4 separate regions of the Homo sapiens genome follow, and all the other regions are linked to region 3. The links are contacts of gene promoters, found by promoter capture Hi-C in blood cells and fetal thymus (Javierre and others, 2016). All regions are on one chromosome and are shown on one strand. The core of a region is centred on a gene start or on the middle of the fragment in contact, and the rest is flanking DNA. Distances in the headings are between cores, read along the strand shown. Region 1 holds the start of DPYSL5 (dihydropyrimidinase like 5). Region 2 holds the start of AGBL5-AS1 (AGBL5 antisense RNA 1). Region 3 holds the start of GTF3C2 (general transcription factor IIIC subunit 2). Region 4 holds the start of MAPRE3-AS1 (MAPRE3 antisense RNA 1).

Region 1 (7,249 bases), core at 216-2,715, 510 kb after region 3:
TCGAGAAAAGGGCGTGCCGTGGGCGCCGCGGAAGATCACAAAACCCTAAGCGAGTCGCTACCGGCTGGTTTCAAGCCTGGAGACAAAGCTCCTCACCAAGCCAGCCCAGCCCGGTCCCGGATCTGCCATCCTGGGTCCCTAACCCCGGTCCGAGGGCCACGCCCAGCCGGCCACCTGGGCCGCGGGGCCCCGCGCCTGGAGCTGAGGATCCTCGGGCCCGAGACCGCCTCTCAGCTGCTTGCCCCTCCCTCCTCGGGAGGCTCCCCTTCCCAGGAGGCCCCCCTCCCCCGCACAGCGCGGGTCTTCTCCTCGCTCCCGTCCTCCCTCCTCAAACCCAGGCGGCCTCCACCCGCCTGCATCCCTCCTCCCCTCCCCATTCTTCAGCAGAACCAGCCTCGCCGGGCGCCACCTGCACCGAGCTCCTTCCCTCGTTCTTCGGACCCGCCCCCGCCCCTTCTCTTTCCTCCTCAAACCCTAGTTCCCACTCCCTGCTCCCCGAGACCCACTACCTGTCCTAACCCAGCTCCCCAGCCTTCCCCATCCCCATCTTTTCTCAACCGAGGCCTCCCCTCGCCCTCTCCCGGCTTCTCTCCAGCTCAGACTACAGCCCCGTCCCCAGGCCCGGGGCGTCGACGTCGGTGCCCGCTGAGATCGATGCTGCAAGGCGGGCTCCCGCGCTGGGCTCCAGCCGAGGGACCCGGCTCGGCGCCCGCTCCGGGCTGGGCAGCCGCAGGAGGCCTTTGTGGCTCAGGCGGGAGGCTCGGAGGCGGCGGGCGAGTCCTCTGCAGGCGTCCGCTCCGTTAGCCGGGCGGTGGAACAGACCGCCGGGTCGGGTCCAGGCTGGGCAGATCCCAGCTCGGAGGCGAGAAGGACGGAGGGTGTGTATCTGGGTGGTGTGTGGGACCGGGGACAGCGCAGATCCTGGGACCGGCAGGACTGGCCCCCGGCCAGAGGCGCCCCCGCCCAGCCCTCCAGCGGTCCACTGCACCGCGCCCGGCTAGGAAAGCGGCCCACTGCGTGCTAGGCGCGAAACCCCTCGGCCGAGCCGCCTCCTCACCCCAGGGCTTTGCAACCCCGCGAGCACGCATTAAACGCTTACTATGAGCAAGGCCCGGCACGGCGCTTCGCGGGCGTACAAAGAGGACCCCAAGAGCGCCCCGGCTTAGCCCCGATGGCCACCTCCCAACCCCAAACCACACCTCCCGCCGCGTCCCCTGCGGCCGGGCCCCAGGCTCACCCGGCTCCCCGCCCTTTTGTGCGCCTCACGCAGAAACAGAAGGGGGAGAGGAGGATGTCCTAGCCCGGGAGGGGTAAGCCCACCGACCCCCCTGCCATCACCCACTCCTCCGAGATGCTGCGGCCGCGGGGGCCCGTGGCTCGGTCCGTCTCCGTCTCGCCGCGGCGCCGGAGCTGCGGGTGCTCGGGGCGGCGGCGGCTGCACGCGCGCTCGCTCGGGGGCCGCCTCAGCGCGCCCAGCGCGGGAGTCCAGAGTGGGGAGCGGGGGAGGGGCGCGTGTCGGGGGCTGGGAGCGGCCTCCGCCAATCACCGCGCGGCCGGCTCCTCCCGCCGCTCCCCACCTCAGCTAGCAGGTTAAGGGGAGGCGGGGACAGGCGGCGTCCCGCATCCTTGGCGCCGCGCGCCGCCGCCGCCTGGGGACTACAACTCCCGGCAGGCCCTGCTGCAGGGCCGGGGTCCGAGAGCGGACGGAGGGCGCGGCCGGAGAACTCACCGACCCCCCTAGCACCCGGCTCCGCGTTCCCTCGGGTTTCCATGGCGACTCAGGACACCACAAAGCCTGGACGCGCTGAGGCACGGGTCCCCAGGGAGGGCCGGGGGCGGTTCCGGAGGACACCCCGCCTCCCCTCCCCCAGCTGGATCCCACCCCAGGGGCTGAAACAATGCCGCGGCCGCCTCTCCCGGGCTGCGGCCGCGCTGCCCTCCGCCGCAGGACCCCGCCGAGGCCGCCTGGTTCGCGCCAAGACCCGCTCCGACGCCCGCGGGATTGCGGGATGCAAAGGGCCGGGTGGGCGTTATAGGAAAACTGTTCTCATGAACAAAGTGGACGGCCACTTGGGGCCACCGCAGTTCGCATCTGCACCCGGGGAGGTCTCGAACCCGGAGTGCGTTCTCTCCACTGAGAAGATTTTGCCCAGCGCCACGCGGGTGCTTCCCTGTCCAGAGCGCTCAGGCCCAGTGCCTGTCTTATTTCTGGCTTCTGTCAAGGGACAGCGAAGCCTTTGGAAATTATTTATAACCCAATTTACATTCGCTTCACCTGTTTCTTCATGTTTAAATACATACATAATTTACCAAAATAAACAAATCTAAAAAAGGAGAGGAAGGATCATCCCCGGTTTGTCCCACCTCCCTAGCTAATCCCGGTTCAAGCCTTTGCCATTGATCTGTGTTATTTTCTGCAGTTGTAATAATAGTTTGGATTAGTCATTTGCCTCTTTGCACTTAATGTCACTCCAAAGGCGTTGCGATGCGCGTTAAAATGCAGCATCAAGGACCTCCAAGCTGCAGCTGCAGAATCCCTCCCTCCCCGGGCTCCCCGGCGATCCGGTGGGGAGAGGAGTCCCCTGGCAGCCATGGCCTCGTGAGGTGGTTCTCTTTGCAGGATACTTTCAAACAAAATGGTGTTCACTACTCCGGGGGCGTGGAGGGGGTCCCCTCTCCCCATCTCAGCAAAATCTACCCGGGCGCAGGACCCGCAGAGCCCGCCAAGGCGGGGTTCCCTGCCGTCCTTCCCCAGAGAGCTTAGGGCCTGGACCAGGCCAGGCTGGCCTTTGAGGGATGCATTTCTGGATTACCCCACCCCTGAGTCTGCACTCCTTCTCCCCTTCCCAACTCCCGCCTGCTTGGTAAGCAGAGAGCAGGGAGCCCCCAGAGGAACCTCAAAGCATCCCTAACCCAGTGCAGCCCGGGATGTGGCTGTGAAAACTGCTCCAGCTTGGGGCACTGCCCTATGGATTCTCCAGGGCTTGCCCGGACAGGGATGTAGGCAAAATGGACTGGGCTTCAGGGAGGTGGCGTGGAGCTGCCAGCGGCCTCCCGGCGGCGGGGTTCCGAGACTACCGCGCGCGGGCGGTGCTGCGCTTTTTGCTTAAGGGAGAGAGAGCCCTCTAGTGACTGTAAATGTTTTCTGCAGCGTCTCGTAGACCTTAAATTTGGATTCTAGCATCTTAGCTTTCTTGGGCTACCTTCCCTAGTCAGCGAAACGGCTGCCTCTACGTCATCTGTCAGTTTAGGATATTGATAAAGGTTGCACCCAAACCGGGGGTTGCATATGTCCTCAGTCCTCGACTTCGGTTTGTTGTTGCTAACTTAGGCTCCGTTTCCTGGGAAGTAGAAAGAGCACAGAGCTGGGAGTCCCGCATTGCTGGGTTGGAATCCTTGCTCCTTCAGTTTCTGCCGACTTGACCTTGAGAAAGTGACTTACTCCATCTGACCCTTAGCTCCACCCAGAATACTGGGGTCATATACATTCTTTTAACCTTGTCGTGGAAATTAAATGAAGAAAGGTAGATAAAGGCCATAGCACATTGCCTGGCATAGTGTGCATGCAACAAATGCAGCTATTATTATTTATCCCACAGAAAGTGGTTATTGAACAGTGTGAGGGATATAAGAATATGTGACACTCCCCACAGTAACAGCCACAAAAGGCAATATGTTGTGATTTTTATTATAAAGCTCATATTACTACTCGGTCAGATAAAGTAGAATAAGAATTCAGACGAGAAAGAAAGCAGTTCTGCATAACACTGGGAGATGGAGGAGCTAGAATTTGGATTTCACCTGGATATTGATTTGATGGACAGTTCTAAGCAAAGGTCTGAGATTCTGGGGTGAAGGAGCAAAAGCTTATGGGTGGGGAACCCAAGCGGGTATTTGGAAGACAGCAGAAGAACCCACCATGTCTTGAAAGTCAAGTCCCTGAATGAGGGTGATGGGAAGAGAATGGGGATGGTGAGTTAGGCAGGGGTTGGGGGTCAGACCTCACAAAGCCCAGGGCTACTGGTTTTTATGAGTAAATGTGTTCTGAGTTCCCAACAGCCTTAACAAACTTCAGAATAAATACAAGTTAAAGACCACCATGAAAGGAGGAGGGAGGAAAATCGCACTGTCTGAACTCCTATTATGAGCCCGGGTCTATTTGGTGTTTTACAACACATCATTTAATCCTTGCTACTCCACACAGGAGGTAGCATTGCTCATTTCTTACAAATGAGGCTATCTGGATTTAGAGAGGTTAAACGATTTGCCTGCGAAGTCACACTGCTGTAAGCAGCAGAGCCAGGATTCCAAAGGACATCTGCCTGGTGCAAAGCTGAGCCCTTCCTGCTTCAGCACGTCCTCCCTGCCAGCCTCCAGAAGGCCGGATCTCCAGTGCAGAGAGAGCCTGTGACGGTGAGTGACCCTCAAGGAGAGCCTGTTGCCAAGTCATGGAACCCAGATGTTCCTTCCTCTGCAGCGGCAACCTGTTCCTCCTCGAAGTGCCCCCGGGAAAGGGGCTCTCCAGTATTCCCAGGAGCTTTGTATAATATTAAGTTTCCTCCTCATCCTTCTCTTTTCACCTTTTTTTGCTCCTTATACTTCTCAGTGACAACCCTAGTGTGGGGAACACATTGTGAAGTCTAGTTAGCCATTAAAAAAAAAAAGTGAGGCCAGGTGCAGTAGTTCATGCCTATAATCCCAGCACTTTAGGAGGTCAAGGTGGGAGGATCACAAAGCCCAGGAGTTTGAGATCAGCCTGGGCAATATAATGAGTCCTTGTCTCTGCAAAAAAATTTTAAAAATTAGCTGAGTATGGTAGCAAGTGCCTGTAGTGCCAGCTATTCAGGAAGCTGGGGTGAAAGCATCACTTAAACCCAGGAGGCAGAGGTTGCAGTGAACCCAGATTGCTCCAATGCACTCCAGCCTGGGTGACAGAGGGAGACCCTGTCTCAGAAAGAAAAAATAGGCCAGGCATGGTGGTGCATGCCTATAATCCCAGCACTTTGGGAGGCCAAGGCGGGCGGATCACCTGAGTTCGAGACCAGCCTGACCAACATGGAGAAACCCCGTCTCTACTAAAAATACAAAATTAGCCAGCCATGGTGGCGCATGCCTGTAATCCCAGCTACTCAGGAGGCTGAGGCAGGAGAATCACTTTAACTCGGGAGACAGAGGTTGTGGTGAGCCGAGATCACGCCATTGCACTCCAGCCTAGGCAACAAGAGCAAAACTCCATCTAAAAAAAAGAAAGAAAAAAAAATAGGCCGGGTGCGGTGGCTCAGGCCTGTAATCCCAGCACTTTGGGGGGCCGAGGCAGGTGGATCACCTGAGGTCAGGAGTTTGAGACCAGCCTGACCAACATGGCGAAACCCTATCTCTACTAAAAATACAAAAAATTAGCTGGGTGTGGTGGCAACCGCCTGTAGTCCCAGCTACTCGGGAGGCTGAGGCATGAGAATCACTTGAACCCGGGTGGCGGAGGTTGTGGTGAGCCGAGATCGGGCCACTGCACTCCAGCCTGTGTGACAGAGCGAGACGCCGTCTCAGTAAAAAAAGAAAAAAAGAAAAAAAGAAAAAAAGAAAAAAAAATTTGGCCGGGTGTGGTGGCACAGGCCTGTAATCCCAGCTACTCCAGAGGCTGAGGCCGTAGAATCGCTTGCACCCGGGAGGCAGAGGCTGCAGTGAACTGAGAGCTTGCCATTGCACTCCAGCCTGGGTAACAGAGCAAGACTCCATCTCAAAATAAACAAACAAACAAATAAATAAATGTCAACCAGCAGTCAAACCTGTGTATTCAAGACAGTGCCACAAAGCAGGAGCCAAATTTAAAAAGCACGGGGCCGGGGGGGCAACAAGACAGACAAACAGACTTTGGGAGAGGGAGACAGGACAACAGAGGCAGCATGAAGAAGATCTAAAGACATAGAGATATTCAGATACACAAACAGGGGAATGAGACTGGAAGGGTTCCAGGCCCCAGAGCAGTAACTACCCAGTCAGACACAGGGGATGGAGGAGGAGGCCTGGGGAGGCTGAGGGGGTGCTGTGCTAGAGCTGAAACATCAAAGTAAATTCCAATGGTTTATCACTACCCTTGAAACGCCAAGGAGCTCTCCGAAAATTTAAATCATTCCTTCTGGCCTAGGAAAGTTTTGGTTTTTTTTTTTTTCCTGCTTTTATTTTTAAATTTCAGAGTTTAATTTTGAAATGCAAGTTTGTCTTCTCTTGGAACGAGAATGGCCACAAACCAGCATAAAGGAGGAACTGCTGGATGATTCCAGCTGCCCCAGCCTTGTAGCAGAAATCTAAAACGTTAAATTGGCATTTATTTCACGCACATATAGAGGTTCTTTAAGCCAAACAAAGCAAGAAATTGCATAGTCTCACAATGCCATCATTATCCAGATGAGGATAATGAGGCTTTGTTTTAAGCCTTTTTTCTCCCTTAACAAATAAAATTCGAGTATTAGAAAGAATAATAATGAGGACAAGAAACATAAGTCAAACAATCACCTTCAGGGAACAAAAGAATTACTCTAAGAGCCAGATCTTTAATCACCTTTTGGTTCCCTACCTGTCATTTTCCACAACACAGGGCTTTACTGAGCCCCTACTGGTGGAGGAGCTGAGAACATAGGAAAGAATCCTCTCACCCATGCCCCCAAATTTAATTTTTATTTATTAGGTGAATCCAAAGAAGTAAGCCAGTAAGGCCAGGTGTGGTGGCTCACACCTGTAATCCCAGCACTTGGGAGGCCAAGGCGGGTGGATCACCTGAGGTCGGGAGTTTGAGACTAGCCTGGCTCACATGGCGAAACCCTGTCTCTACTAAAAATACAAAAATTAGCTGGTGTGATGGTGCACGCCTGTGGTCCAGCTACTCGTGAGGCTGAGGCAGGAGAATTGTTTGAACCCTGGAGGTGGAGCCAAGATCACGCCACTGAATTCCAGCCCGGGTGACAGAGTAAGACTCTATTTCAAAAAAAAAAAAACAAAAAACAAAAAACCAAAAACAGTAAGAAATACCCTTACTACCTTTCCCTGATATTCTTTTTATGAAGCCAGTTCCTCCGTTGAGCTTTCTTTTGTTTTTGTTTTTTAGAGATGGGGTCTCACTCTGTCACCCAGGCTGGAGTGCAGTGGTACAATCATAGCTCACTGCAGCCCAGCTCATTTTAAAAATCTTTCTGGGGAGATGAGGTCTCACTATTTTGCCCAGGCTAGTCTCAAACTCCTGTCTTTAAGTAAT
Region 2 (7,007 bases), core at 304-2,803, 310 kb after region 3:
GTAGTCCGCGCAGAGCCCCTCACCTCTCTCCGGGCCGGTGATCCCGCTCCCTCTCCCGCTAGCGAGGCCGCACCTTGGGCCCCGGCACCCGGGCCCTCCACCCGGGCCCCCAAAAACACCCGAGCGCCGCGGTGCCGGGACCCCGCTCTGCCAGGAAACAAGAAGTCTCTCGCCTATTGGCCGTGGCTGCAGCTGGCGACCCGCCCAGTAAAGCTCGCTACCATTGGTCAGCTCTCAGGGTTCCTCGCACGTTAGTGGGTACCTGAGCGAGTGTCGTTCGGGGACGATGGCGGGCAGGAGCGGCCGGAGGGTTCTAGCAGCGTCTTCCGGAAGACGGTTAACGGCCTGCCTGCCGGGAGGCGGGAAAGATAAAGCGGCAGAAACTGGGACTCAACTGCGAAATAAAAAGACATCGTGTGAAACTCCTTATCGCTTAACAGTCTTGTGTCTCTAAAATGAAACACGTAGCCCACTGCGCCGGGAATCCCTCCCGTTTTGTGTTCTGTAGTGTGACGGACGCAAAAGCTGAGTGGAGGATGCGGGCATCGATCCCGCTACCTCTCGCATGCTAAGCGAGCGCTCTACCATTTGAGCTAATCCCCCGCCTGCTGCTTAGTTCTTTCCCTTTGCCTTACAGGTTCACTGCACTGTTCACTGACCAGTGGATCAACCACAGTTCAGGACATTTATTTAGCAGAGTACAATACAGTGGCATCCATGTGCAAGATTCTAAAAATCAAGCATATAATCGTGTGCTTAAGCAGAAAACATTCTAAAACACGTTACCACATGTACATTGAACGCAGAAAGAGCGTTACCGTATACTACATACTACGGTGTTCCCTATGGACTGACGGCAGTACGAATGCTAAGTCACAGGAGGCCTCCAAGCCTTTCCCCTTATGGGATAATTGAATTAAATTGAGGTTAAAAATTACAGACGAAGTCCTTCGAGCCGGAATCGAACCAGCGACCTAAGGATTGCCACGCCCTATCCACTACAGTCCTCCGCTCTACCAACTGAGCTATCGAAGGCTCCGCTGCGATAAGATGCTGCTGATAGCCCTCTAATGCTTACCGCAACCTCATCCAGCCATGACCCCCGCTTTCTCCAGCTGAAGGAACCTGCCAGGGCAGGAGACCCATGGGACCTCACAGAGCTGAGAAAGCCGGAGACCCAAAGGCAAGGAAAAGAAGCTGCCCAAAGTCCGGGTTCTCAGGCCAGAACGGAGGCCACACCGGCCCTGAGCTTCCCGGCTTTTTAACAAAATGTTCCCAACACCCCGCGGTGGTTTCTCCTGGACCGCGAACGCCGAGCCCGCCGCCGCCTCCTGGAGCTCCGGGGCAGCGCTTGTGCCGCGGTACCTGCACTCACAGGGGCTTTGCGACCGCGACGCGCAAACCCTGCTCGAGAGCCGATGGGCCACTTTGGCTGCTCCTGCTCCACATTTCCCTTGGCTTCTCCGGACGTGCTCTCCTGACGCGAACGACATTCGCTCGGCCAATTAACTCAGGTTTTGTCAGGCTCTATTCGTCCTGACCAGTGCAAGAGAGACGGCGACCGCGGGGTGCTGCAGGCTTCGGCGCGGCGCATTATCGGGCTGTGCCGAACCCCCCGGGCCGCCCTGGGATCGCGGGCCTGGCGGCGTGGCCCGAGGGCTCGGGGAGAGGGCTACGCGCCAGGAGAGGGCGGCGGGGCTGCAGTACAGGCTTTCCTGCCCTCGGAAGCGCTCGCAAGCCTGGGGGATTCCCCTGCGGTAGACCTGGGATGGTGGGCGGCGCGCGGCCGGGTAGGTCCCTGCAGCCTCCGAGGCCCACGTGAGGTCGGGGTCGGGGCGGCTGTACAGTGCCCAGCACAGGCCACTGGCCTCCCTTGTGGGTCTTTGCACAGGTCCGCTTACTCTCGGAAATCTTGGGTTCCCCAGGGCCGGGGAAGGGTCTTCTGCCTGGTCTGGGGCCCCTCCCCCGACACTGTGGATGTCTAGGTGTCCCGGGTGGGGTCAAGGAGTGACCCCACGGGTTCCCCCATCTTTGTCCCTATCCAGCTCACACCTTCGCCTGTCTTTTGCATGTGTTTTTTCCACAACCTTTTGTTCACCGGGTTTTTAACAACAGAAATAAACCTAACCCCCAACTCCTCTGTGAAGCCCTGCTTGGTCGTCCTGTGGGGTGGGTGTGCCGGAAGACCTGGCCTCAATTTCCAGCTCTGGGCCAACGTCCTGTGCTACCTTGAGCCAACATCGCCCGCGAATCCAGGTCTGGTGATGCTTTCTAGCCCCTTGCAGCTCCAACATTTGATGGGTTCTCTCGGGCTGAGCTTTAAATCCGAAGTTTCTAGATATAAAGTTGTGTCAACATTTAGATAGAAGAATATAGAAGATCTGCATAGCTTTTATTATTCAATATCAAAAAATCACATTCATGGCCAGGCGTGGTGGCTCACACCTGTAATCCCAGCACTTTGGAAGGCCGAGGTGGGCGGATCCCCGGAGTTCAAGAGTTGCAGACCAGCCTGGCCAACATGGTGAAACCTGTCTCTACTAACATACAAAAATAATTAGCAGAGGATGGTGGCGCGCGCCTGTAATCCCAGCTACTCCGGAGGCTGAGGTGGGAGAATCGCTTGAACTCGAGAGGCGGAGGTTGCAGTAAACCGAGATCGCGCCACTCCAGCCTAGGCAACAAGAGCGAAACTCCGTCTCAAAAAAAAAAAAAAAAAAAAAAGCAGCCGGGAGTGGTAGTGAGCTCCTACCACTCCGGTAATCCCCAGCAACTCGGGAGCCTGAGGCAGGAGAATCGCTTGAACTTGGGAGGCGGATTGCAGTGAGCCTAGAGTGCGCCACTGCACAACAGCCTGGGAGACAGAGAGAGACTCTGTCTCAAAGAAAAGGCCACACGCGGTGGCTCACGCCTGTAATCCCAGCATTTCGGGAAGCCGAGGCGGGTGAATCACCTGAGTTCAGGAGTTCGACACCAGCCTGGACAACATGGAAACCCCTTCTCTACTAAAAATAAAAAATTAGCCGGACGTGGTGGCGCATGCCTGTAATCCTAGCTACTTGGGAGGCTGAGGCAGGAGAATCCCTTGAACCCAGGAGGCGGAGGTTGCAGTGAGCCGAGATCGTGCCACTGCACTCCACCGTGGGCGACAGAGCGAGACTCCGTCTCAACAAACGAACAAACAAACAAAAACCTCTCAACAGAAAGAAGTCCAGGATCAGAAGACTTCCATGTGAATGCTACCAAACATTTAAAGAATTAACACCAGTCCTTTTTTTTCTCTCAGATCACTAAATGAAGGTAACACCAATCCTTTCAAACTGTTCGAAAGAATAGAAAAGAAGGGAACACTTTTTAATTGATTATATGAGGCCAGCATCATTCTGATGGCACAGCCAGACCAAAAGACCACAAGAAGACTACAGATCAACATCCCTTATGAATATTGATGCAAAAATCCTCAACAAAATACGAGCAAACTGAATCCAATAGCATATTAAAAGGAGAAAACCATGACCAAGTTAGACTTATTGAAGGAATGTAAGGGTGTTCAACATAAGAAAAATAAATAAATGTAGGCCGGGCCTGGTGGCTTACGCCTGTAATCCCAGCACTTTGGGAGGCCCAGGTGGGCGGATCACCTGAGGCCAGGAGTTTGAGACCAGCCTGGCCAACACAGTGAAACCTCATCTCTACTAAAAATACAAAAATTAGCTGGGCATGGTGGTGCACGCCTGTAATCCCAGCTACTCGGGAGGCTGAGGCAGGAGAATCACTTGAACCCAGGAGGCAGGGGCTGCAGTGAGCCGGCCACTGCACTCCAGCTTGGGAGACAGAGGAAGACTCCATCTCAAAAAAAGAAAAAAAGAAAAATAAATCAATGTAATATACCACATTAATAAAATGAAGGAAAAAAACTACATTATCTCAATTGATACAGGAAAGGGTGACAGAATTCATCACCCTTTCATGAAAAGTAGAAACTCAGAAAACTAGAAATAGAAACGAACTTCCTCAGCATGATAAAGAACATTTATGAAAAACCCACAGCTAACATAAAACTCAACGGTGAAGGTCAGGAACAACCACTAAGGTCAGGAACAAGACAAAGATGCCTACTTTCACTGTTGCTACTCAACATTGTACTAGAATTTCTGGCCAGAACAACTAAACAAGAAAAAGAAATAAAAAGCATCCAACCTAGAAAAGAAGAAATAAAACTATCCCTATTTGCAGACTATATTGTCTTATATATAGAAAATACCAAAGAATCTACCAAAAAACTATTAGAAGAAAAAAAAACTATTAGAGAAAATTCAGCAAAGTTGCAGAGAACAAGATCAACATGCAAAAAAACAAATTGAGCTTCTTTACACCAATAATGAACAGTCTGAAAGAAAATTAAAAATGTAACTTCTGGGCGTGGTGGTACATGCCTGTAATCCCAGCACTTTGGGTGGCTGAGGTGGGAAGATGGCTTAAGCTCAAGAGTTCAAGACCACCCTGGGCAACATTGTGAAACCCCATTTCTTAAAAAAAATACAAAAATTAGCTGGGCATAGTGGCGTATGCCTGTAGTTCCAGCTACTCAGGAGGTTGAGGTGGGAGGATCACCTGAGTGCAGGGAGGTTGAGGCTGCAATGAGCTGTGATCAAGCCACTGCACTGCAGCCTTGGTAACAGAGTGAGACCCTGTCTCAAAAATAATAATAATAAAATAAGGCCGGGTGCGGTAACTCACATCTGTAATTCCAGCACTGTGGGAGGCCTAGGCGGGAGGATCACTTGAGGCCAGGAGTTTGAGATCAGCCTGGCCAACAGGGAGAAACCCTGGTCTCTACTAATAGGAAGTGGTGGCTTACATCTGTAATCCCAGCTACTCGGGAGACTGAGGCAGAATTGCCTGAACCCAGGAGGTGGAGGTTGCAGTGAGCTGAGATGGCGCCACTGTACTCCAGCCTGGGCAACTGAGTGAGACTCCGTCTCAAAACAATAAAAAGTAAAATTAAAAAGAAAATAAGAAAAATATTTACTACCTGGAAACTAAATCTTTCTCTTTGGTGGGAGGCATCGTAACTTAAAATATGTGTAGTAGGCTGGGCGTGGTGGCTCATGCCTGTAATCCCAGTACTTCGGGAGGCCAAGGCGGGCAGATCACGAGGTCAGGAGATCGAGACCATCTTGGCTAACACAGTGAAATCCTGTCTCTACCAAAAATACAAACAATTAGCCGGGCGTGGTGGCACATGCCTGTAGTCCCAGGTACTCGGGAGGCTGAGGCAGGAGAATTGCTTGAACCCGGGAGGCGGAAGTTGCAGTGAGCCAAGATCGCGCCACTGTACTCCAGCCTGGGTGACAGAGTGAGACTCCGTTTCCAAAAAAAAAAAAAAACAAATGTGTAGTAATTTCCATGGAGCTGTCTGGGACAGACTGGATATCTCCTGGCCTTCCAAGTGAGGTGAGCTGTTAATAATAGCACCCACTCATATATCTGAAGAGTATATCTATGGATGAAGTCTAGGGTATTTGGAAATATATAAACTATGAAAGGTGTAAATATGTTTTATTGTAGATAATGTATAAGATAGCTATTTAAAACAACTGTAAAAGCCACAGAGTGGGAGAAAATATTTCCAAAAGACATATCTAATAAAGGACTGTTATCCAAAATATACAAAGAACTCTTAAAACTCCACAATAAGGGCAGACACAGTGGTTCACACCTATAATCCCAGCACTTTGGGAGGCAGAGGCAGGAAAATCGCTTGAGGCTGAGAGTTTGAAACCAGCCTGGGTGACACAGCAATGTCTACAAAAAAATTTTTTTGAATTAGCCTGGCGTGGTGGTGTGTGCCTGTAGTCCTAGCTACTGGGGAAGCTGAGGTGGGAGGATTGAGGTTGCAGTGAGCTATAATTGCACCATTGCACTCCAGCCTGCGTGACAGAGCAAGACCCTGTTTCTTAAAACCAAAACAAACAAAACAAAACAAAAAACCCTCAGCAATAAGAAAATGAACAACCCAATTAGAAAATGGAGAAAAGATCTGGACACCTCACCAAAGAAGATATACAAATGGCAAATAAGCATATGAAAAGATGCTCAGTTTCACTAGGGAATTGCAAATTAAATATCTTCATCCACCTATGAGAATGGTGAAAATCCAAAATACTGACAAAACCAAATGAAGATGCATAGTAATAGGAACTCTAATTCACTACTGATGAGAATGCAAAATGGTACAGCCACTTTGGAAGACAGCTTGATGTTTTTTACAAAACTAAACATACTCTTATCATATGATCAATTGTGCTCCTTGGTATTTAACTAAACGTGTTTGAAAACTTATGCCCACACAAAAACCTAAACTCAGAGGTTTATAGCAGCTTTACTCATAATTGGGAAACTTGGAAGCAACCAAGATGTCCTTCAGTAGATGAATGGATACACTGTCGTACATCCAGACAATGGGATATTATACAGTGCTAAGAAGAAATGAGCTATCTCGCCATGAAAAGACATGGAAGAATCTTAAAGACAAATTACCAAATGGCCGGGTGTGGTGGCTCATGCCTGTAATCCCAGCACTTTGGGAGGCCGAGACAGGTGGATCACTTGAGTACAGGAGTTTGAGACCAGCCTGGCCAGCATGGTGACACCCTGTCTCTAGCAAAAATACAAAAATTAGCCAGGGGTGGTGGCACGCACCTGTACTCTCAGCTACTTGGGAGGTTGAGGCAGGAGAATCGCTTGAAACCAGGAGGCAGAGGTTGCAGTGAGTCGAGATTGCACCACTGCACTCCAGCCTGGGTGACAGCGTAAGACCCTGTCTCAAAAAAAAAAAAAAAAAAAAAAATTACCAAATGAAAGAAGCCAATCTGAAAAGGCCACATAGTATGATTTTGACTATATGGCATTCTGGAAAAGACAAAACTGGAGAGAGTAAAAGATCAGTGGTTCCTTCGGCTCTGGGGGAAGAAGGGAGGGAGGAATAGGTAGAGCACAGGAGA
Region 3 (7,114 bases), core at 4,136-6,635:
TTTAGTAGAGATGGGGGTTTCTCCATGTTGGTCAGGCTGGTCTTGAACTCCCGACCTCAGGTGATCCGCCCGCCTCAGCGTCCCAAGGTGTTGGGATTACAGGCGTGAGCCACAGCACTCAGCCTTCTTGTTTTTCCTTGATGAAGTTACTTTAAATCAAATCCAAGCATTATATCATTTCACTCCTTTAACTTCAATGTCTCTTAAGAAATATGGAAATTTACCATAATATCACTTATTAAATCATACTTTCTTAGTATTCAATCCATAATCAAATTTCCTTGGCTGAAAAATGACTTAGTTTGACTCAAGATCCAAACAAATCCACACATTACATTTGGTTACATTTTTTAAAAAGCAGTCTCCTCAGCCGGGCGCGGTGGCTCACGCCTAATCCCAGCACTTTGGGAGGCCGAGGCGGGCAGTTCACGAGGTCAGGAGATGGAGACCATCCTGGCTAACACAGTGGAACCCCATCTCTACTAAAAATACAAAAAATTAGCCAGGCGTGGTGGCGGGCGCCTGTAGTCCCAGCTACTCGGGAGGCTGAGGCAGGAGAATGGCGTGAACCCGGGAGGTGGACCTTGCAGTGAGCAGAGATCTTGCCACTGCACTCCAGCCTGGGCGACAGAGTGAGACTCTGTCTCAAACAAACAAACAAACAAACAAACAAAAAAAAAAAAAAAAGAGCAGTCTCCTATCCCCTTTTTACATTGACATTGGCTTACAGAAGCCATGTTGATTGTCATATGAAATGTTCTGCATTCTAGATTTGACTGTTTGCTTTCTTATGTTGTCATTTCACTCATTCCCTATGTCCTGTATTTCTTTTTTTTTTATTTGAGATGGAGTCTTGCTCTGTTGCCCAGGCTGGAGTGCAATGGCACGATTTCAGCTCACTGCAACCTCTGCCTCCCAGGTTCAAGTGATTCTCCTGCCTTAGCCTCCCGAGTAGCTGGGACTACAGGTGTGCGTCACCACATCCAGCTAATTTTCTTTTGTATTTTTAGTAGAGACAGGGTTTCACCACATTGGCCAGGCTGGTCTTGAACTCCTGACCTCAGATTATCCGCCCTCCTTGGCCTCCCAAAGTGCTGGGATTACAGGTGTGAGCCACCACGCCTGGCCCCTAAGTCCTGTATTCCTATTCAATTTTTTGGGCAAGAATGTTTAATAAGTGGTTCTGTGTGCTTTATATTGCCTCACATCAGGAGGCAAACAATGACTGGTGGTTTCATGTTCAGTGATGAGTGGGTCCAGGCATTTTAAAGCTTCCTAAAAGCTCTTTAGGGATTTCATCCACTGGTGATTGTTGCCTGAATTATTTCACTGGGACATGCAAAATAGTGATTTTTTTCTATCATTCTTTGCACAATTACTAGCTGTTAATCTATAAAAAAAAAAAAAAATCCCGGGCTGGGCAATGGCTCACACCCGTAATCCCAGCACGTTGGGAGGCTTAGGTGTGCGGATCACCTGAGGTCAGGAGTTCAAGACCAGCCTCGCCAACATGGTGAAACCCCGTCTCTACTAAAAAAATACAAAAATTAGCCGGGAGTGGTGGCGGGCGCCTGTAATCCCAGCTACTCAGGAGGCTGAGGCACAAGAATTGCTTGAACCTGGGAGGCAGAGGTTGCAGTGAGCCGAGATCGCGCCACTGCACTCCAGCCTGGGCGACAGAGTGAGACTCAGTCTCAAAAAACAAACAAAACCTTCCTCTCATCAGTTATTTTGAACTAGAGTTCATACTGGAAAGACAAGATAAATGCCTTACTCTTGCCTTTTTTTTTTTTTTGCCAATTTTCAGGAATTGGTCACTACTTTCTTTTTTTCTTTCTTTTTTTTTTTTTTTTTTAGAGCTTAATGAGTTTTTTTTATTTTTTTATTTTTTTATTTTTTAATTTATTTTTTTATTGCTAATTCTTGGGTGTTTCTCACAGAGGGGGATTTGGCAGGGTCATGGGACAACAGTGGAGGGAAGGTCAGCAGATAAACAAGTGAACAAAGGTCTCTGGTTTTCCTAGGCAGAGGACCCTGCGGCCTTCCGCAGTGTTTGTGTCCCTGATTACTTGAGATTAGGGATTGGTGATGACTCTTAACGAGCATGCTGCCTTCAAGCATCTGTTTAACAAAGCACATCTTGCACCGCCCTTAATCCATTTAACCCTGAGTGGACACAGCACATGTTTCAGAGAGCACAGGGTTGGGGGTAAGGTCACAGATCAACAGGATCCCAAGGCAGAAGAATTTTTCTTAGTGCAGAACAAAATGAAAAGTCTCCCATGTCTACTTCTTTCTACAGAGACACGGCAACCATCCGATTTCTCAATCTTTTCCCCACCTTTCCCGCCTTTCTATTCCACAAAGCCGCCATTGTCATCCTGGCCCGTTCTCAATGAGCTGTTGGGCACACCTCCCAGACGGGGTGGTGGCCGGGCAGAGGGGCTCCTCACTTCCCAGTAGGGGCGGCCGGGCAGAGGCGCCCCTCACCTCCCGGACGGGGCGGCTGGCCGGGCAGGGGGCTGACCCCCCCACCTCCCTCCCGGACGGGGCGGCTGGCCGGGCGGGGGGCTGACCCCCCACCTCCCTCCCGGACGGGGTGGCTGCCGGGCGGAGATGCTCCTCACTTCCCAGATGGGGTGGCTCCTCACTTCTCAGACGGGGCGGCCGGGCAGAGACGCTCCTCACCTCCCAGACGGGGTCGCGGCCGGGCAGAGGCGCTCCTCACATCCCAGATGGGGCGGCGGGGCAGAGGCGCTCCCCACATCTCAGACGATGGGCGGCCGGGCAGAGACGCTCCTCACTTCCTAGATGTGATGGCGGCTGGGAAGAGGCACTCCTCACTTCCTAGATGGGATGGCGGCCGGGCGGAGACGCTCCTCACTTTCCAGACTGGGCAGCCAGGCAGAGGGGCTCCTCACATCCCAGACGATGGGCGGCCAGGCAGAGACACTCCTCACTTCCCAGACGGGGTGGCGGCTGGGCAGAGGCTGCAATCTCGGCACTTTGGGAGGCCAAGGCAGGCGGCTGGGAGGTGTAGGTTGTAGCGAGCCGAGATCACGCCACTGCACTCCAGCCTGGGCACCATTGAGCACTGAGTGAACGAGACTCCGTCTGCAATCCCGGCACCTCGGGAGGCCGAGGCTGGCGGATCACTCGCGGTTAGGGGCTGGAGACCGGCCCGGCCAACACAGCGAAACCCCGTCTCCACCAAAACCAGTCAGGCGTGGCAGCGCGTGCCTGCAATCGCAGGCACTCGGCAGGCTGAGGCAGGAGAATCAGGCAGGGAGGTTGCAGTGAGCCGAGATGGCAGCAGTACAGTCCAGCTTCGGCTCCACATGAGAGGGAGACCATGGAAAGAGAGGGAGACCGTGGGTAGAGGTAGAGGTAGAGAGGTAGAGAGGTAGAGAGGTGGAGGTAGAGGTAGAGCAGTTTAATGGTCACTACTTTCAATGGTGTAGGATGAGTAGCTGATATTTTGGCTTTTACTTTTTTTAAAAGATCATTATCAATACATGGATTTCTATATTTTGAACATACTACTTAATCATCAAAATTAAGCAGAGGATCAACAGGGTTGCTTTATGCTTTAGAAAGATAACCGGGCCAGGCATGGCAACTCACACCTGTAATCCCAGCACTTTGGGAGGCATAGGCAGGAGGATCGCTTGCGCTCAGTAGTGTGAGACCTGCCTGGGCAATATAGCAAGACCTCATCTCTATTAAACAACAACAACAAAAAAACCTGGAAGTGGTGGTATACACCTGCCACACACCCCAACTATTCAGGAGGCTGAGGTGGCAGGTTGAGGCTGCAGTGAGCCGTGATTGCACCACTGTCCTCCAGCCTGGGTGACAGAGCAAGACCCTGTCTCAAAACAAACAAACAAACAAACAAACACCTAGTAGAAATTAGAGGCAGAGAAGTAGATCAGTGAAAAGATTGGTTATAAATCAAAATTACAAATGCACCTAAAACTTTGGTTCACAATTCCACTTCTAGAAATTATCCTACCCATATAGTTACACATTTGAAGTAATTTAGATGCAAGGTTACTTATAGCAGTGTGATTTATAATAGCAAGGGACCATTGTTTATAACAGCAAAACCATGTAAATATGCATCAATATCAACAAGGCACTAGTTATACCACATCCACCCAATTAAATGCTAACTAGTTATAGCACAGAATGAGAAAGGTTTTTGTGTACAGAAATGGAATAATGGCCAAACTCAGTGACTTACACCTGTGATCGCAGCACTATGGGAGGCTGAGGCAAGAGGATCACTTCAGGTCAGGTGTTCAAGACCAGCCTGGTCAACATAACGAGACCCCATCTCTAGAAAAAATTAAAAAATTAGGCCGGGCGCGGTGGCTCATGCCTGTAATCCCAGCACTTTGGGAGGCTGAGGCAGGCGTATCACAAGGTCAGGAGTTCGAGACCAGCCTGGCCAACATAGTGAAACCCCTTCTCTACTAAAAAGACAAAAATTATCCGGGCTTGGTGGCGGGCGCCTGTAATCTCAGCTACTCGGGAGGCTGAGGCAGGACAATTGCTTGAACCCGGGAGGCGGAGTTTGCAGTGAGCCGAGATCGCGCCACTGCACTCCAGCCTGGGGACAGAGCAAGACTCCATCTCAGGAAAAAATAAAAATAAAAATAAAAACGGGGTCTCACTATGTTGCCCAGGCTGGTATCGAATTCCTGGGCTCAAGTGATCCTCCCCCGCCTTGGCCTCCCAAAGTGCTGGGATTACAGACAGGAGCTACCATACCCAGCCAAAGTCATGCTTTTCTACTCCTACTCCTTCCCTTCCTTGTCCTCTTTCCAAGCTCTCTCGGGCCCATCCCTGACTTCACTACTGGCAGAATCCTCCAGCGGCCGGCGGCGAGGACTTCTTTGTCTCCCAGACTCCGCCTTGGGCTCGGACGCCGCCAGGGTTGCAGGTACAGACTCTCTGGTCTAGCTGGCTCTTCCGGCCACAGGCGCGGCAGTCCGGCCGGAAAGGCCGGATTCAGGGATCCAGAGCGCGAGCCCGGCCTGGGAGTCCGCCTACTCCCGGCTCCCGTCGAGGCCGCGTGGGATCCCGTTGGCCGCGCAGGCGTCGATCTCCCCTTTTTGACACTGCAACTCCCATGAGGCCCTGCAGCGTCCCTGGCGCCGCTGAAGACGCCCTGGAACTCGGCTGGCTTCGGAGGGCTCGGTGACTCTGGCCGCGCTGCATTATGGAATACAGAGTCTAAGAGAAAACTAGCCCGGCACCGACTCCGGACCAAGCACACGTGTTTACCTTGTGCACTGGGGTGGGGGCGTCAGTGAAGAGCAGCTAACAAGATTTCGTCATAAGACCGCGACCAGACAGGCGGCGCCATCTTCGAACTTAGACTTCCGGAAGGACTTTGGCGAGGGTGAGTGTATCGCCGCAGCGGGTGTGTGGGGGGCCCCACAATTACTCCTCCCCCTTCTTTTGCCATAGCACTAAGATATTGGGAACAAACTCCTGGCTCCGCTCTTCTCCCAGCCACAGCAGCGCGCCTTTCAGCGTCTGCGCTCCTACAGAGCACCATCATGCTCCGCACCTTCCCTACTGTGGCCACCGTGCACCCCCCATCTCTGCAAGCCTCGGGTCTTGCCCTCCTCCCCCACGCGGTGTCGGTAACGCGGAAGCCTGTGTCCGGGCGTAGGCGCTGCATACGTAGCGTCCCTCGAACTCGGCGAACCTACAGTAGTCCTTGTTAGAAAAACCAGGGCTCCTCTCCCGCACAGGCTAGGGGAGAAATCTACCTTCACGCCCAGGACTGAAGAAGGGCAGGTGATGGCCCCTAGAGTGGTTGTGGGTCAATCTCTTTCAGCTGTGTCCCAGCCTCTTCCTCGAGGAGGCTCTTTAACCCCGAGGGTTGTGCCCCGCGCGCTGCAACGCCATTGGCGTAACCAAGGGCCAGTTGTGTTTCCCTGTCTAGTCCTTTTGTCCCGTGGCAAGTTGGCTGCCTGTTGGGGAAGTCAGAGGTGGCGACTTCAACTCCGTCGGAGGCAACTCACTTTGTTGGAGGGATGTATAGGGTATGGACAAACCTCTTTGTTCCAGAGGCATATACAATTTTAAGTCAATCCCGTGCCATCACTATTTTTGCAATCTCTTATCAATTGTACTATTGTTTTCTGAATAGTTCTCTTTAAATTGACTTACTTAAAAAGTTTAAATGCATTAGTCTCGACCTAAGCAATATAAATGAAACCGTGGGTTTCATGGGCTACTTATAATTGTTTATGTAAGTTGAAATAAAAGCACTAGTCATTAAAATGTTCGTTTTCGTACCATTAAAATCATCTTGCATACCGCCAGTTGTACCCTAGGAACACTTTAGGAAACAATATATTAAGCTAAGCAGTGTATTCAAAGTAATTTCATACTTAAGGTGCAGTGTTGTGTCATTATTTTTTCTTGGCTGGGGAGGTCAAGCTGGCATCCTGGAGCAGCATGGGAACCAGACAGATTGGGGTGCAATGGAAGGTTTTAGAAACTCAGTACGAATTTACTGATCATCTATTCCTTTACTGTGTATCCAGAATTTGTACCATTACATCCTGCTGCTGCCTTCCATGAGAAGTGTATTTTTTTTTTTTTTGATACGGAGTTTTGTTCTTGTTGCCCAGGCTGGAGTGCAGTGGCGTGATCTCGGCTCACTGCAACCTCCGCCTCCCGGGTTCAAGCGATTCTCCTGCCTCAGCCTCCTGAGTAGCTGGAATTACAGGCGCGTGCCACCATGCCCGGCTACTTTTGTATTTTTAGTAGAGACGGGGTTTTACCATGTTGGTCAGGCTGGTCTCGAACTTGTGACCTCGTTATCCGCCCACCTCGGCCTCCTAAAGTGCTGGGATTACAGGCGTGAGCCACCGTGCCCGGCCAGGCAAATTATATGTACAGGCAATTCATAAAAGTCATATGGATGTCCAATATATAGAAAGAAGTTGCTGACACCAATTATTATCAGTGCAAATAAATAGAGTGGGGAAGAATTCTTTCACCTATCAGATTGGCGAAAATTAAAAAGATCAGTAACGGTATGATAAAATGGGTACTAATATACATAAATAGTTTTAATTTTGGTGAG
Region 4 (6,751 bases), core at 2,960-5,459, 340 kb after region 3:
AACTGCCTAACCATATTGGTGGAGTGGAATTGCAGACTGGAGTCAGGGGAGTGTTTCTGAGTTCCCAGGATGCACCTAAAGTAACAGGAGGAGGAGTGGATGGGTGGATGGATGCTAAGCTTGCCGAAGGGGCAGAGTGGGTAGGGTCAAGGAAAGGGCATCTGATTTTGATGAGTATTATTTAGTTGTGGACTGCAAGAAATTGAAAAGATTTGTCCCTGTCCTCAAGGAGTTCATAATCTTATTGGGGAGAGTAATGCACACATGAGAACAGTATAACCAAATGCCCCAAAGTGTGCTAGAAACAGCAAGTGCCACAAGAATAGGGAAGGAGAGGGCATGCAGAGGTAGAGAGATGGATGTGAATGACCCCAGGGCCACAGTGGTCAGACTCTGCCAGGTCCCCAGGGAGGGTGCAGAGGACGGCCAGGAGCTGGTGCAGAGGGCACCAGCTATTCCGGGAACTGTCCAGAATGACTCTGCAGGAGTGTTCCACAGGCTCAGAGACTCATTTCCCTATGAGGCCCCTGGGGCAGAGTGATTCTGGGCCAGCTGTGGCTGACAGGCCTCAGAGGGGCTGATCTGGTCTTGGGTGGTTCTGGGGGCAAGGAGTAGTCTTAGGTTGGCCCTGGGAGTTTCCGAGCCACTTTAGGGACTTTGTTCTGCTTAAAGTGTATGAATTTCAAGGGGTGACTACTGAAGAAAAGGAAAGGCAATGGTCTTAGTCCAAATATATCCTCCAGTTTTTGATTGAAATCATTTGAGCCTCAAGGGTCTTCCAGCCTGGGGGCAGCTTTCCTGGTTCCACAGGATTGGACCTGCTAATGGTTCAGGCCTCTTCCATGCATTGCAGAGATTCTTTACTAGGAGAGTCCACTGGCTTCTCCTGCAGAGACTTCAAGAGGCTACAGTGCAGCCCAAGTGTGTGTGTGTATGATATATTATATATACATTATATGTTATATGCACATATTTTACACACACACACACACATAATTTTAAAGAATAGCCCAGATGATTCTGGTGCACAGCCCTGTATGAGAACCACAGCCTTCATTTGATATGCATACTTAGCTGTGATTTACTGGCTTTTGTTGCAATGGCAAAGGCTGGAACATTGGGATGTTCTGCCACTTATCTGGGGGGAAAATACTAGCCAGTCCTTGGCACACAGGGAAAATCTCCAGTTTCCCTGGAGTTTAGAACACAACTAAAGGCCTTGCTTTTAGGGCTCCCAAGAGTCACTAAGAGCCACATAGCGGCTTGAAAAATGCCCAGGTCTTCTCAGCATTGACCCAGTCTTGTCAATGCCTGATGAAGGGAGGGCATTTTCCATACCTTCGGTCTGACTCTAGGGTCCCATGAGTGGCAGCAGTGCCTGTGTGAAGGAAGCTGGAAAAAATGGCTCCTTTCAGGACCCAGCAACGAATCATGCTGTTACCCACTATGGGGCTTCTGGGGAAGCAGGTAGCTAGTAGCAGGAACACAGCTTCAGTCCCTACTCAGGACTCGCTCAGGTCCTCACAACTGGTGCTACACTCTGCCCTAATGGGGGTCCATTTGGCTCAGGAGGACTCATCCAGGGCACCCAGGGGTCTCTGCAGGAATTCTCTGCTGCACCTGCTAGGGCAGCATGAAGTAACAGCCTCCTTGTTTCCTTTGAGCAAACATCACATTGGGGAGGGCAGGATGCCCTTTTAATTTTCCTCTCGTAGCTTTGGCTCTGTAAGTAGAACTAAACATGGCCAGCAGGTGGCACCCAGGTCCTGAGCAAAAACTCCTTTAAATGTATCCCCCATCCCCCAAACCCCCTTTCCAGAGCTCAGTTTAGAGCTCAAATTGGGAGCCTCTAAAAGCTGGGCTGGCTGAGGGGCCTGGAGCATTGGGGCTGTTCTAAGATCCTGGACTGAACTAAGCCAGCCTCCGTATCCCCTAAAACCACAGTTTGAACTCACCAAAGAGGTCCAACTTCTGATTGGCTTTTGCATTGGGGGTTGACTTGGGCCTGGACTCACACCAGACCAGCTGCTGGGGGCAGAGGTGTATAAAGTATTTGCCCAAGCATCAGGGTCTAAGTGGACCAGCTGCCTCCAATTACAGCAAAGACATAACCTGCCAGGCGCGGTGGCTCACGCCTGTAATCCCAGCACTTTGGGAGGCCGAGGTGGGCGGATCATGAGGTCAGGAGATCCAGACCATCTTGGCTAACACGGTGAAACCCCGTCTCTACTAAAAATACAAAAAATTAGCCGGGCACAGTGGCGGGCACTTGTAGTCCCAGCTACTCAGGAGGCTGAGGCAGGAGAATGGCGTGAACCCGGGAGGCGGAGCTTGCAGTGAGCCAAGATAGCGCCACTGCACTCCAGCCTGGGCAAAAGAGCGACACTCCATCTTAAAAAAAAAAAAAAAAAAAAAGACATAACCTGACGAAACTCTTAATAATAACACACTTGTTCCCAAGAGCTCCTTCACCTCCCCGGAGAGAATGGTAGGTAGCCACTCGGAGGGGGCAGGCTCTGTCCCAAGAGATGTAGTAGCAGTGTCTTCCAACCCCATCCACATGTTTCTACCATGATCTTTGGCACATGTGACTGTCAGGAGAAACAGACCCTGATTGGATTGTGGCATGTCATCATCCAGGCGGATCCCCATTCGAGGATCAGACCGACAACGTGGCTTTGGGGAAAGCCTGCTCTGAAGGGCCTCGACTCCTGCTATCAGGAATGGAGCCAAGGGAAAGAAAAGTTGAGGAGGTTTAATCTGGTGATTTTGCTGAGTCATTTCCTATACTAGGACTGTAAGGTTCATGGTGCATTCACAGGCAACTGGGAAAGGCAATTACAGCTCTCATTGCGGGAGGGGAAGCTGCTGGTCATTCTGCAGACTGAGGCCTTAAAAATGGTCATCAAGACCAAATCCCACTAACCCATGGTCAGAAGGGTTTCTAGAGACCATCTGCTTCCTTCCCAGGCGATTAGGACTGCACTTAGATCTAGGCACTTATATTCTTAAATCATAAAGATGGCCAATAAGTCTGCACAACTGAAATTTCACATTCTATTATTTAATGACCTTATCACCAGCCTAAATCTAATTTTGGCTTTTTGTTTTTAAATCTGTCTTCCACAAATATGTCTTAAGGGTAATTTAGGGGCCCTCAGTCTTCTCTAATTCTCTAGAGCTCTTTTTACCCCAAGTTTAGCCCTGTTCTGGCTGGTCCCTGGAAGAACCCCCTGCAGTTTCCAGGCCTCCACCCTCTGCCCAGCGTGGCTATGAAAGACACACCAGGTCTACCAGTCCTGAAGGAGGTGGCCAGCATGCCTCCAGCAAGCTCCAGAAAGGTAGTGCTTAAGAACACTAGATCTCCAGGCACATCAGGTGGGTTCAAATCCTAGTTGTACCATGTCCTAGCTGTCTGACTTGACTTTAGGTCTCAGTGTCCTCATCTATAAAGTGAGGACAGTGACAGCTCCCACCTCACAGAACAGTTATGAGGATTAAGTGAGCCATGTGTACACAGTGCTGAGCACAGAGCCTGACATTCAGTATGTATTTGGCAAGTGCTGTCAGCATCGCGGGGACAGACAGTGAGAATCTAAGGGCATTTGTTCGAGGAGTAGGTGCCTGACACACAGCCAGCCTCTGGTCTCAGACCATGGAAATGCCAGTCCAGAAAGGAGACAGACTACAGAACTTTTCTCTGCTGCTTTGCCTTGAGACAGCCACATGGGCTTCCCAAAGCTGGGCTCTGACCACAATCCCTCCCCAGCTCCAGATTTCCCATATAGCCTGCTTTGTAGACGCCATCCTACCGGCCAAGACAACTGGAACAGATGCTGTGGGATCAGAAGAGAGAGAACTCCACAGAGCCAGCCAACACGTTTCCCGTTCCTGAAGTGGGACTATGCCCATTGTCACTGGGCTACCCCTTCCTGCCCAGGCCCGGGGGCTGAAGTCACCTGTTTGGAAAATCTGCAAAATTGCTACCCCTACCCCTGTGAGTCACACATCCAGGTTATTCTGGGCTTGCATGGAGGCAGTATGTGCAGGTGGGGCTGAGGGGTTCTGAGGGGCTGGGGAGCAAGCCAGCGGGTCACAAAGCCCTGGCAGACCTGGCCAATCACCTTCTTCTTATGGCTGAGCAAGGACCTGATTCATTGAGAGGCTCAGCCTCTCAAAGCTGGATTAATCAATGCAGAGACGGGGCAAGTGGAGTATTTGCAGGGTTGGCCTGGAGCCCAGCATGCGCCCCCTCCCACACATCCAGGACAGGGATCTGGACGGCTGTGGGTTCAGGTAGGGACTGAAACTCCTCCAGGATTTTGTTCTCACAACACTTTTAGGTCACAACTCTAAGACCCTGAGCCCTGCTGAAGTTCCAGCCACTGGGATCCTGGACATGTCCTGCTGAATAATGATCTGAACTCTTACTAAGGCTCTCCCCAGGCTGGTTGGGATAATGGTGCCACATCCCTGTAGCTGCTAGCCAGGGAAGGAGTCCTTGGGGTAGGTTCTGGCTAGGTCACCCTATCTGACCATAACTTCGAGGGTTAACGGAAACCCTGCAGTATAGTAAACAAAATTTCTCATCGCTAAAATCAATCCATTTCAGTAGGGTTCATCTAGGTGGGCAGATAGGCAATATTTTCTTTCTAAACGTTCTTTGCTGGAGATCTTTCAGTTCCTCAAACACCTACTTTTTAGGTCAACAAATGTCCATGGAGTCACCCATCAATCCAAGGCTCCCAGCAGAAGGCAGACAGTGTGACTTGGCTACAGGCTTTGCCATTCGCTGCCTGTGAGACACAAGCAAGTAGGCGAAGATATCCAAGCCTCAGTTCTCATGAAGCATCAGAATGATGGTATGATTGAGCATGGGGCTGTTGGAAGGATAATGAGTACCGCTGGCAGGAGCCAAAGGTTCACCATCACGCTGCTTTGGGGGCTGAGCAACCTTTACTGATAGGCAAGATCACTGACATAGACATATCTGACTCAACATCTTCTTTCCTGCACCCTGACCCAATTCCCACAGACCCTCTGATCAGGGTCCTGAGCAGGGAGAGAGTAGGGACAGCCTTGGGTATCCACTCTCTGCTGCCTCAGGCAGAAAGACAGAGCTGTGCTTTTGAAGCTATGTTGCCCATTTCTTCCCTCAATTAGTACTGGCTCAGGGCTCAGTGCACAATAGCTTCTCAGTACCTATATATTTATTGAATGAATGAATGAATGAATGGGAGAGGTTAAACTAGGGTTTGGGGGGTTCAGATGGCAGGTGGACTCAGAAAGTGTGGTTTTCTGCTTTTATTTCTTGTTTGTTGACCCTGAGGAGGTGCCACTGGCTACATGGAGAAGCAAGGAGAGGAGAATGCTAGCTGCACTCCCTGGCTACACGCAAACAGATGCAGCACGAAGCCTTGGGAACCTTGGCAAGGGATTTAAACAGTCTCCCTCTAATGCATATAACATGGTGCTGCTGGATTTCCCAGAACAGGATTTTAAGATGGTTCCGAGAGTGGAACCTGGTAACTCCTGGGAGCACCTCTCTGCTTGGTCTGCTCTGGGGGTGGGCTGCTGGCCCATCTGTGGCTAGCCTCAGGATAGAGGGAAGGGAGCTGCAGCAGCTGCCATGACGTGTTGGGAAGGGAACTGTCATGTTTGCAGCAGCCCTGGTGGGTCTGATGTTTTTTTAATTATCCTTCAAGTTCCAAAAGCACATCCATGTCTCTGGGGACACATAACAAGCCATGTCACTTTATGTTCCTTTGGAACTATGTCTCTTTGGACTGTCTGGCTTATAGTTGTTGTTCAGGGCCAAGTGATGTGTCACCCTTCTCTGAAATGTCTGCATCCTGTGAATTGTTTAGCCTACTTTCCCCTGACCCCAGGCTCAGGCCCCTCTTCTCTGCTCTCACCATACCTTTCACCCCACATCCAGTCCCCTCCCAAAATCCTCCCAGTTTTACTTCTGTGCCCTTTTGAGAGGGCACAGTCATTTATACTTTAAGCTTTCCACCAGAAAGTCGGATGCTGAAGATGTCCAGGACAAACTTAAGTTTCAGTGTTTGTTGAACTCTCTGTGCCCTCTCCAGTAGACTGCCTTTCCTCATGCCCTCAGACTCTACTCTACCTGCCTGTTCTGCAGGACTAACCCCACGTGGAGACAGTCAGCCCCCACCCCAGTGGGGACATGCACTGGAGAGCTTCCAGAAGGCCTGCAGATAGCTTCTCTCCTGCCCTACCATAGTGCCCGAAATTCCCACCAGAAATGCCACTCTTGTGGATTACAGCATCCAGCTCCAGAAAGCCTTTGAGTTGTTACCTCAATTTTGCTTTTGAGGAAATGAAGGATGAGGATTCCAGTGACTTTTCCAAGTTCAAGATCAACCACTGGCAAGATCAGAGCTGAACCTGGCCAAATGAACACAAATCCCATGCTCTTTCCACACCACCACACTGGTGCAGGAAGGACGATTTGATTTTTCACAGCTCTAGAGCAGGATGACTTGCCCAGATTTCACCCCTTGAGAATTAGGAGGAGGGAAAGGGAATTTCAGAGGATTTCTTCTTCTTCTTCTTTTTTTTTTTTTTGAGATGGAGTCTTGCTCTGTCACCCAGGCTGGAGTGCAGTGGCATGATCTCGGCTCACTGCAACCTCCACCTCCCAGGTTCAAGCAATTCTCCTGCCTCAGCCTCCCGAGTAGCTGGGATTACAGGCGTCCATCACCATGCTTGGCTAATTTTTGTATTC

Evidence for each region. The method cuts DNA at HindIII sites, captures the fragments that hold promoters and counts their contacts. A CHiCAGO score of 5 or more calls a contact.
Region 1: a contact is called between the fragment with the promoter of DPYSL5 here and the fragment with the promoter of GTF3C2 in region 3, in 5 of 17 cell types (naive B cells, total B cells, naive CD8 T cells and 2 more). The highest score is 9.5, in naive B cells.
Region 2: a contact is called between the fragment with the promoter of AGBL5-AS1 here and the fragment with the promoter of GTF3C2 in region 3, in 16 of 17 cell types (total B cells, naive CD8 T cells, total CD4 T cells and 13 more). The highest score is 30.9, in total B cells.
Region 4: a contact is called between the fragment with the promoter of MAPRE3-AS1 here and the fragment with the promoter of GTF3C2 in region 3, in 10 of 17 cell types (erythroblasts, naive B cells, total CD4 T cells and 7 more). The highest score is 9.3, in erythroblasts.

Annotation. Positions count from the first base shown.
Region 1 is chr2:26,842,348-26,849,596 of GRCh38, reverse strand. It overlaps DPYSL5 (dihydropyrimidinase like 5), which reads right to left and starts at 1,465. Exons shown (of 13, transcript NM_020134.4): 1 at 1,343-1,465. The HindIII fragment of the contact is 4,603 bases long and covers 1-3,868 here.
Region 2 is chr2:27,044,810-27,051,816 of GRCh38, reverse strand. It overlaps AGBL5-AS1 (AGBL5 antisense RNA 1), which reads left to right and starts at 1,553. Exons shown (of 2, transcript NR_046730.1): 1 at 1,553-1,637; 2 at 1,813-2,134. It overlaps TRY-GTA2-1 (tRNA-Tyr (anticodon GTA) 2-1), which reads right to left and starts at 1,035; the gene lies at 947-1,035. TRA-AGC8-1 (tRNA-Ala (anticodon AGC) 8-1) reads right to left here and starts at 603; the gene lies at 531-603. It overlaps AGBL5 (AGBL carboxypeptidase 5), which reads right to left and starts at 149. Exons shown (of 15, transcript NM_021831.6): 1 at 24-149. RefSeq lists silencers at 1-158, 562-856, 1,559-1,768 and enhancers at 1-394, 709-938, 1,109-1,398. The HindIII fragment of the contact is 15,630 bases long and covers 1-7,007 here.
Region 3 is chr2:27,355,035-27,362,148 of GRCh38, reverse strand. GTF3C2 (general transcription factor IIIC subunit 2) reads left to right here and starts at 5,385. Exons shown (of 19, transcript NM_001035521.3): 1 at 5,385-5,410. GTF3C2-AS2 (GTF3C2 antisense RNA 2) reads right to left here and starts at 5,384. Exons shown (of 4, transcript NR_183827.1): 1 at 5,293-5,384; 2 at 4,247-4,341; 3 at 2,689-3,264. RefSeq lists enhancers at 5,055-5,184, 4,764-5,377, 5,195-5,534, 5,585-5,864, 5,378-5,991 and 1 more. The HindIII fragment of the contact is 6,500 bases long and covers 1,274-7,114 here.
Region 4 is chr2:27,012,046-27,018,796 of GRCh38, reverse strand. MAPRE3-AS1 (MAPRE3 antisense RNA 1) reads left to right here and starts at 4,209. Exons shown (of 6, transcript NR_149018.1): 1 at 4,209-4,296. The region is part of intron 1 of MAPRE3 (microtubule associated protein RP/EB family member 3); the gene reads right to left. The HindIII fragment of the contact is 5,889 bases long and covers 122-6,010 here.